Linked DNA regions of Homo sapiens: all the other regions are linked to region 2. The links are contacts of gene promoters, found by promoter capture Hi-C in blood cells and fetal thymus (Javierre and others, 2016). All regions are on one chromosome and are shown on one strand. Each heading gives the region's core, a stretch centred on a gene start or on the middle of the fragment in contact. The rest is flanking DNA. Distances are from core to core; before and after follow the strand shown. Region 1 overlaps WDPCP (WD repeat containing planar cell polarity effector). Region 2 holds the start of EHBP1-AS1 (EHBP1 antisense RNA 1). Region 3 overlaps EHBP1 (EH domain binding protein 1).

What was found. The method cuts DNA at HindIII sites, captures the fragments that hold promoters and counts their contacts. A CHiCAGO score of 5 or more calls a contact.
Region 1: a contact is called between a fragment that was not itself captured here and the fragment with the promoter of EHBP1-AS1 in region 2, in 1 of 17 cell types (megakaryocytes). The highest score is 5.9, in megakaryocytes.
Region 3: a fragment that was not itself captured here is called in contact with the fragment with the promoter of EHBP1-AS1 in region 2 in 1 of 17 cell types (megakaryocytes); the score reaches 7.0 in megakaryocytes.

The regions. Positions count from the first base shown.
Region 1 is chr2:63,498,726-63,501,437 of GRCh38, forward strand. All of the region lies in intron 1 of WDPCP (WD repeat containing planar cell polarity effector), which reads right to left. Among named protein-coding and RNA genes, the nearest start is that of WDPCP, 88 kb to the right of the region's middle. The HindIII fragment of the contact is 2,318 bases long and covers 199-2,516 here.
Region 2 is chr2:63,046,862-63,049,850 of GRCh38, forward strand. It overlaps EHBP1-AS1 (EHBP1 antisense RNA 1), which reads right to left and starts at 1,660. Exons shown (of 4, transcript NR_033389.1): 1 at 1,528-1,660. It also overlaps a transcript of OTX1 not described here. RefSeq lists enhancers at 972-1,720, 1,699-2,989, 1,721-2,470, 2,471-2,989. The HindIII fragment of the contact is 1,878 bases long and covers 200-2,077 here.
Region 3 is chr2:62,775,449-62,778,518 of GRCh38, forward strand. The region is part of intron 5 of EHBP1 (EH domain binding protein 1); the gene reads left to right. Among named protein-coding and RNA genes, the nearest start is that of EHBP1, 71 kb to the left of the region's middle. The HindIII fragment of the contact is 1,740 bases long and covers 511-2,250 here.

The sequences.
Region 1 (2,712 bases), core at 108-2,607, 450 kb after region 2:
AGCCATGGGAAGGACAGGAAGCTTGAGGGCAAAGAAAACCCAAATGTGAAACATGATAGCAAAGAAAGAATTAAGAAATAGAAGACATTGCTGTAGTTATAATAAGGATAAATGATAGCATGGCATCCATAAGACATTTAACATGGAGGTATATGAGCAGAAGACTGCAAAGAACCTAAGGTAAATAAGGAGACCTCAAGCTTGGACTAACCTATTGTACCCAAAGAATGGAGTACTAGAAACAATGGCTCATTTGTACCTCACAGGGCCTTATGAGATCTAAATACCAATTAAATATCACAATTTGAGCACTTTATGTATATGTTTACTGAGTCATAGATACAAAGTTTTATAGAATGGGCCTCTACTATCAAACACCATATAATCAGGGTAGCAGATAAAATAATCACAAAAACAATACGAAGTGTGTAGTAAGTGCTAATATGGTAACATACACAATGGGCTAGGGGGGTTCAAAGGGCATTTGAGGATTGTCAGATTTTGCTAGAGGGAAATAGATAAAAAGGAGGGAACAATACCCAAAAGAATAAATTAGAAAGATGCAAGGCTTATTTGAGGAATAATAAGCAATCTGGTTTGATGCACAGGTAGAAGAGATAAATCAGAGCCATAATAAGGAAGTCTTTGCCAAGCTCAGGAATTAGGACTTTGTATTTGCTAGGTAGCTAATTAGGAACAATGAAGTTTCTGATCTGGGAAGGTATTTTTAAAAAGAATAATTAATAGATCAGAATTATTGTTGGAAGATTAACTGGTGGGTAAAATATTGGAGGAGTGAAGGAAAGTTTGATATGAGTGACCTGTTAGAAAGGTATTAAAGGAACAGACAACACTAATATTCAGTAACAAGGACCTGAATTGGGGTGGTGGCAGCTGGAATATAACAAAAGAAAGGGATGTAAGTGATCTTGTAAAGAAAGAATCGACAGCATATGGGCACTGATGATTTGTAAGAGACAGTGTAAGGGAGTAAGAGAGAAGAATCTGGAGTGACCATCAATGGATGGGGATCTGGTTACTGCTCATATAGTGACCCTTGCCTTGACCATGCCGTCACTGAACAGGCATGCCTGCATCATCATGTGCCCAGTAAATGGGTACCAGTGCATTCCATCTGTTCACAATGACTGCCTCAACTACTGAACCCACACACATCAATGTTCCTAGCTACTAACCTGGCTACGTGGTCTCCTGTTTTACTTCTGCCTTGCCCCTCAGTTTGTAACTCTGGCTCTTCTTCTTAAACTGTGATTCAACTTCTTCATCCTGTCAAAGGACCCATGAATACTGTTCTTCTTGGCCACATCAAGTTCCCAGGAACCCCTTACCCAGACTTGTTCCCACCTAGTTGATCCTAGTTTCAAGGGCAGGACTTGGATTGAAACACACATAGAAACAGGTTAGTCTAGAAGAAGAGCAAGTTTTGTTAATAAGTTGAATTTTAGACTCAGTGGGAGATAAAGGTACAAGGAAATGCTCTGGGTAGATATGTCTAGCTGGTAGCTAGAAATACAGAAGAGAGGCCTGGACTACATAAAAACTACTTTGGAATTTTCTAAATAGAGAGTAAAGCCATTGAGTAAGATCACAGAAGAAAAATAAAGTCAAAGATAGATAGTCTGGTAATTCTCCAATAAAGAGTCAATTTAAAAGACAGACTAAGATAATATAGTGTCAAGAAAGCCTTGAAAGAGAAAATGGTGTGGGGGTGTGTGTGTGTGTGTGTGTGTGTGTGTAAAGTGGTTATACAGTGATCAAACTTGTTGGTTCTGAATTTTAATGCAGAGATGACCTCAATATGATTTAATGAGAAGTAATGTTTTATCAAGTACATAGAGGTTAAGTCTGCTAAAGGTGTGGTTCTACTGTTCTGAATGCTGGGCTGTAAGCCAAAAATGCCTTCATTCTAATCCTGCTATGACAAACTTACTCCAAATCATTTAACCTCTGCCTCAATTTCCCCACCTGCAAAAACAGGGATAATGATATTGACCTACATTTGTAACGGTGTTGTAAGGATTAACTAGTGTGTATAATGCTTTGAAGATTAAAAGTGCTGAGCATTATTAGTGAGTATTACATAACTAATTGTCTATAATACTAAAAATGTTATCCTTTAAGTTTAGGCAAATAGCAGTTATCAAATAAATGTTCTAGCTCCCTTAGTGACATTTAGCTTCTAATGTTAATATTAAATTTATTATTGAATGTGTATCTAGATCTATTTTACAACTGTCATCTCATGGCATATAAAGTTCTAAATCAGTTCAGAAGCCTAGGACACTTTTTCAACCTAAATATTAAATGTAAGTATTCAGGACATATTTATTTGAAAATGAGCACCCACTGCAAGTATTCAATAAATACCAAAGGTAGTATTTTTAATTATAAAATTTCAGATTTACCAAAAACACTAAGCAACTAAATAGAAGCAAAATGCAAAAAGCACAAAGCATTATGTTCAAAATACTATCTAAGTCCCTATTTTTAAAACAAGCTTTAGAACCTAAAAGTGTGCAAAAAATGAAGAGAGAAAGCCAGGTGCAGAGGCTTACATCTATAATCCAAGGACTTTAGGAGGCCGAGGTAGAAGGATTGCTCTAAGTCAGGAGTTCAAGATCAGCCTGGGCAACATAGTCAGACCCTGTCTCTACAAAAAATAAATAAAAATTAGGCAGGTGTGGTGGCACC
Region 2 (2,989 bases), core at 410-2,909:
TGATAACCGGCAAGTCTGTAGGTACTGAAGTGAAAGGAAGAGGGTTATTGTTGGGGGGCGGGGAGAATGTATGCAGGTATGTGTGTATGAAATGAGGGAAAGAGAACTTTTAACAAGAAGTTCTAGGCTACAGAAAAAAAAAAAAAGCGATTCTATGCTAGTTTCCTTCATTCCCCCACAGGGGTGTCCAAACAAAGAAAGCTTGTTCAACAAGTCCAGAAACTTAGAGAAAAAAGTCCACTAGCATTTATACTTCAGCGTAGATCGTATGTATGTGCACACAAACAAATTTCGTTCCAAGTATGCAGCCACCTCCAGTTGCCAGTCTTTCAAAATGATAAAAACTTGCTACGGTAGAATTCCTTCATGATGAGCATTTCTTTTAAGTTATTGAAAAGTTATTTTAAGTAAATGAAGTCGGTATTTGCCCTCTTTATTCGAGCACGAGAGCAGAGAGAGAGCTGCTGCTCTCTGGGGAACGCTCTCAGAATCCCGTTCTAACCCCGGGAAAACTCAGCAGACAGAAATCGCCCGCCCCAAGCAGCCTGGGGCCTGGGCGGCCAACAGCACCCACCCAGTTTACGCTTGATTCGAGGAACCTTCACTCCCGAGGGGCCTCGCCGAAAAGCAGCTCCTTCGCTCCCGAAGCCGCTCCCAATCGGCCAACTGACAACCCTTCCCTCGCCCCAGATTTGCTAGGATGGTCTGGGACCGCCGGGCGGCCCCTCTACCTGCCCCTTCAGCTTTAGTCCCGAGCCTCTCGGGGTTTCAATTTGGGCTGCTCGGTGGCGCCCGAACGCCCCTCAGCGGCGGTGGAGCGTGGACTCCGGCGCCTGGCGGGGTAAGGCCCGCGGCAAGGGCGCTGCATCCGGACATCGCTGCGTGGTGCCCAGACGCTGGCTCCCGAGAACGGGCACGAGCCCAGCACGCCGGAGGACCCGGAACTCGAAAGCCCGCGCTGCGGGAAAAGAGACTATCGGTCCGAGGGTCGCAGAGGAGCAGGGGCGTTGGCAGCGGGCTTGCTTGGGCACAGTCTGCGGGCCGGAGCAGAACTTCCGCCCCTGGTCAGATCCCTCGGCCTCAGATCCAAAGCCCTCCCCTTGTCCCAAGTGTCCTCCAGAGCCTGGCCGGGCCTGGAGGTCACCTGGATGCTGGATCCTTGTCTCCACACCCAGCTCCCTCGCCCCTTCCCGGCTCGAGGGCCTTGAGCTGGACGGCTTCACCTCCTCCAGTGGTGTCCCCACTTCCCCTTCCCGCACCGCGGCCGATGCTGGAACGGTCATGGCTTCTGGCCCAGCATCTCCCACCTGGACATTTGCCTAGCGACGGCCGCCTCAATCCTCTGCGCTGCTTTCAAGAAACTTTCATCCCAGTCTCTCTCCCTCTCCACTCTCCTCCCTCTCCCCCTCTCCTCTTTCTTTTCTTAATCCTGGGGTTTTATGGGCTGAGCGTTAAGAAAATTCGCCTGCAATTTGGGATTAGATAAATACTCTAATTAGGAAAAAAAAAATCCGTGCTACTTGATACCTCCCAACTTCCCCGAGAATGGTGGCAGCATCTGGAACCGAGAGCGCCGGCCTCCCGCGAGGCGTACCCCGGGGACCGCGCTGGCACATTCCAGAGCGCACTGCCGTCCCACCTCGCTGCGCCGGACCCAGGTCAGGTGCTGAGGCTGCAGGCGAAACAGGGCCTGGTGGAGGGAGGAATGAGTTAAGGTGGAGGAATGGGGCAAGGTCACGCGCCCCGGCACTGGAGGGCCAACCCCGGCACACAGCGGACTGGCCGGGACTAGGGCAGCGCCGGGCTATGGACGCGGACGCCGGCGAAGCGCACCCCGGGACGTCCGCATATTCTTTCCCCCAAAACTAGTGCGCTCCAGCCGGCGCCTTTCCTCGGAACCTAAGGAAGGGGTATATTTCGTTGCTTTCTTTAAACCTCAGCACGATCACAGTGGCTCCGAGCCGCGGGCGGCTGACCGCGGGCCTCGCGGGCTACTCCTGGTAGGGGCCTGCGCGAGCCTAAGGTGTGTCCCCGCCTGGGTTAGCGCTGCGCTCTGCACTGTTTCTTTTCCTCTTAAAGCTTCTTTCTCACTCACTCTCTCCCTCCTTCTCTCTCTCATTTTTTCCCCATTTCTCTCGTTCTTTTATTCAGCTTTCTCTCTTTCTCTCCCTTTTGTGAATGGGCCGCGGTGTCTTTGTTCTGTAGAGAAGCGCCCGTGTCGCTGACTTTTGTGAACCAGAGAAGGATCTTGTAAAACCTCCTTTTCTCCTTCGTACGCCCCCACTCCCACCCCTCCTCCCCTGCCTCTTTGATTAGATGTTCCCTCATCGTCAAAAAAAAAATGTAATTTCGTTGGTCTGGCGGCCACTTTCTTTGAACATTAGCTCGCTTTCAGCTCCAACTTCAATTAGAAGGAGTTGATTTTGAGAGATCAACAAAAGAACCGACCAAAGCCTTATTAAAGGTCCTAAGAAGATCTCCCGGGTCCTTTGAGAAGCAGTTAAGGAAACAGTGTGCCCTCCATCATATTCTGTTACCGTATTTTATTCGGACTCCAAAGGAAAGTGTCGCTTGGGGGAGGGGGAAGCACTTTGATGAGCGGCGGCCGCGGCCCCTTTTCACTCAGCGGGCTCCCCCTTCGTTCTCCTCCTCCTCACCCAGCGCCCGGTCCGCTCTCGGCGCCCGACCCCGCAGCCCGGGCAGCGCGAGTGCTCCCCACTGCGATGCGCCTGGAGGCTCCTTGACTTGCCCTCACACTTAATCCTGTGCAAACTTTTTACCCCGCCTGTCGGGGTGGGGGAGTGGGGGAGATTAGAAACAAGGGGTAGAAATTCCTCGAAAGGGAATAAAGTGCCTAATTTTCAGGAGGAGGTGCCATTTAAAAGATTCGCCTAGCTTAGAGTTGGAACGAAAACTCTTTTTTGCACTTTTAAAAGTCCACCCAGGTAGACGTGTTTGGGAAGTTTTTTCGGGTGGGAAATGGGCTTCG
Region 3 (3,070 bases), core at 131-2,630, 270 kb before region 2:
TGTCCTGACACTGAAAAGGTATGCTCTTTGAATGGAATTGTAATACCTTTCTTTTCTTTGCACATTGTGTTACAACCCCACAGTTAATAAAGAAATGTTGAGACTTTAACCGTAATGTCCAGTAGTAGCATTAGTAACAAAGAGTGAAGTTATATTTAATATAAAATATCCCAATAAAACAGAAGTCTCCAAATATATATCACTGTAACAAATTTATTGGACCCTTACTATGTACCAGGTACTATGTATAATAGAATGCTTTATACACATTATCTCATTTGCTCATTATAATAACTCTGGTGTGAGTCAGATATAACCCTATTTTACAGGTAAAGAAAGTGAGGTTTAGAGAGGTTAAGTAACTTGCCCACAGTTATATAGCTAACAGGTTGGGATTTTATCCAGTCTTGTCTTTCTCCAGGGCCTTTGCCCTTAACCCCTACTGCAATAACTAGCTACCTTAATAAGAAAGATGAAAAGAGATCATTTGAAATTGTAGAATCATAGGGAAGCTTTTAATCAGTCTTCTGTAGTGGTAAGTCTGTGAAGAATATATGTATCAGATTAGTGAAGGTAGTCTTTAATTATTGTTTATATACAGTTTAGAAGTTATTTGGGTTAATTATTTCACTACTGTTAGACATTATAAAATGGAATTCTAGAATTTATCAGTCACTAGAATTCTTAATATTTTTTCTCAAGGCAACCTTACTGCTTCTTTGTGCAAATTGACATAATGCTATTTTCATTTTATTGGTTCTCTTGTTTCTGATTTCTCCGTTTTGTCTGAGCTTTCTTCTTTGGACCAGAAACTTTAGAGTTGAAATTTTAGAGGTGGTTCTGCCACTTACTGGCTATGCAACCTTAGATAAGTCATTTAATATTTCACAGCTTCCATGTAGTCATGTATAAAATGATGGTATTAATATCTACTCCACAGGTTATTGAAGATTGGAAATAATGTATGTAAAGCATCTAGCTTGGTAAGGAGTAGCTATTTTTATAATGTTCCTTTCTAGAGGACACAGAAGAATATAAAGGAAAGAAAACTAGATTTCTAAATTTTATTGTTGCAGGATTTTAGTTTTTCCATTCCTTTCTACCACTTACACCTCTCAATGATTTCTAGACTTTACTGTTATCTCAAAGCAATGACAAGGCAACTTGTAACATCTCACTTGGACTAAACTTAAAATATTTTTCTTTTTATCTTTTGATTTAGGATATCTTCCCCTTATAAATTTAATCTAGGATTAACAACAAGTATTTCTTTTGGATCATTTACAATCCATTTACTTATTAGTGTAGATAAGAATGGATACTATAAAACACTATGTTTCATTTTTATCTACTGTAATAGAATAACATCTGTTCATCCAGACAGTTGACATTGTAGGGTTTTTTAAAAATATGAAGCCACAACAGTTATATTTAGGAAACAAAATTTTTTTTCTCTTCCTGGTGTTTTAGATTACCCAATTAAATCCAGAACCATTACATTTGTAAATTATATCCATAGGTTTTAGTTTCTTGTTTTTACATTTGAGACAAGGTCTTGCTCTGTCACCCAGGCTAGAGTGCAGTGTTGTGATCATGGCTCACTGCAACCTTGAACTCCTGGGCTCAAGCGATCGTCCTGCCTCAGCCTCCCCAGTAGCTGAGACTACAGGTGCACACCATTATACCTTGCTAATTTTCTATTTTGTAGAGACGGAGTCTCCCTTTGTTGACTAGGCTGTTTTGAACCGCTGAGCTCAAGCAGTACTCCCACCTCGGCCTCCCAGAGTGTTGAGATTACAGGCATGAGCTACCACACCCAGCTGGTGTTGGTTTTTAAAATCTAAAAAAATTTATTTTTCTGATTCCACTGTTTTATTTTAATACATTAAAAGCATATTGATGAAAGGCACCAATCAGATTGAATCCATTCATTAATTTATTCAACCATTCTGCAATATTTTAATATGGATTTTCTATATGCCCAGACATTTGGTGGTTATTGAAGATACAAAGTCAGTTAAGACATGCAGAATTTTGATTCTGAGATTCATGGTTTTTTCTCCCACATTTTTTTCTGTGAAATTGGGATCATCTTATATCTAGGATGTCCCACAGTTATAACTGGTAGTTTTTTGTTTGTTTGTTTGTTTTGCTTTCTTACTGCTATATAAAATAATGACTGCTATATAAAATAATCTTTAAACCAATGATAACTTATATTTGATGACATAAGATAACCTGTCCTCAAGAAGCTTATAAAGTAGTGAAGTGTCAGAGAGGTAAAGAACTGCAAGGAAAAACATAAAAATGTTCGTAGGGTACTACAGGACAGTAATGGAGGGCAGAGTTGGAATAATTCCTGGAGGAAGTGGCTACAGAGTTTAGTCTTGAAGGAAAAAGGAAGTTAGGCAAAAAAGGCATTCTAAGTAGCGGAAAGAAATAGCAAAAGTAACTGAAAGAGGAAAAACAAAACCAACAGAAAACATGAGCTCCCCCATTAAAGATTAATAGACATCTGCTTTTTGTTTTGTAACTGTTAACCCAATGAATGTAATAATAGGCATAAGATTAACTTGGTTCTTCGTCCTCCGTGAAGATCAGTGGGGTATCAAAATGTGTTTTCTTGGTGCTACCTATTCACTATGCAGTCTTTCCCACTATTTCTGACTGTGACCCATGAGATAGGAAGTTCGGCTCCTCCAGGGCTCCACTAGTCCCTTTTTTATTGCTGTTTGTTTGATGTTACCTCCGGAAGACTTTTAAGTGAATGGCGATGGGCTAAATTAATTATGTTAATTCCAAGGCAGATGGCTGGACCTGGTAGCACACGCCTGAATCTTAACACTTTGGGAGCCCGAGGTGGAAGTATTGCTTGAGCTCAGGAGTTCAAGACCACCATGGGCAATATAATATAGTGAGACCTTTTCTCTACAAAATGTCAAAAAATAGCTGGGCTATGGTGATGCATGCTTGTAGACCCAACTACTTGGGAGGCTGAGGCAAGAGGATTGGTTGAGCCTGGGAGGTTGAGACTGTAATGAGCTCTCATTGCGCCACTGTACTCCAGCCT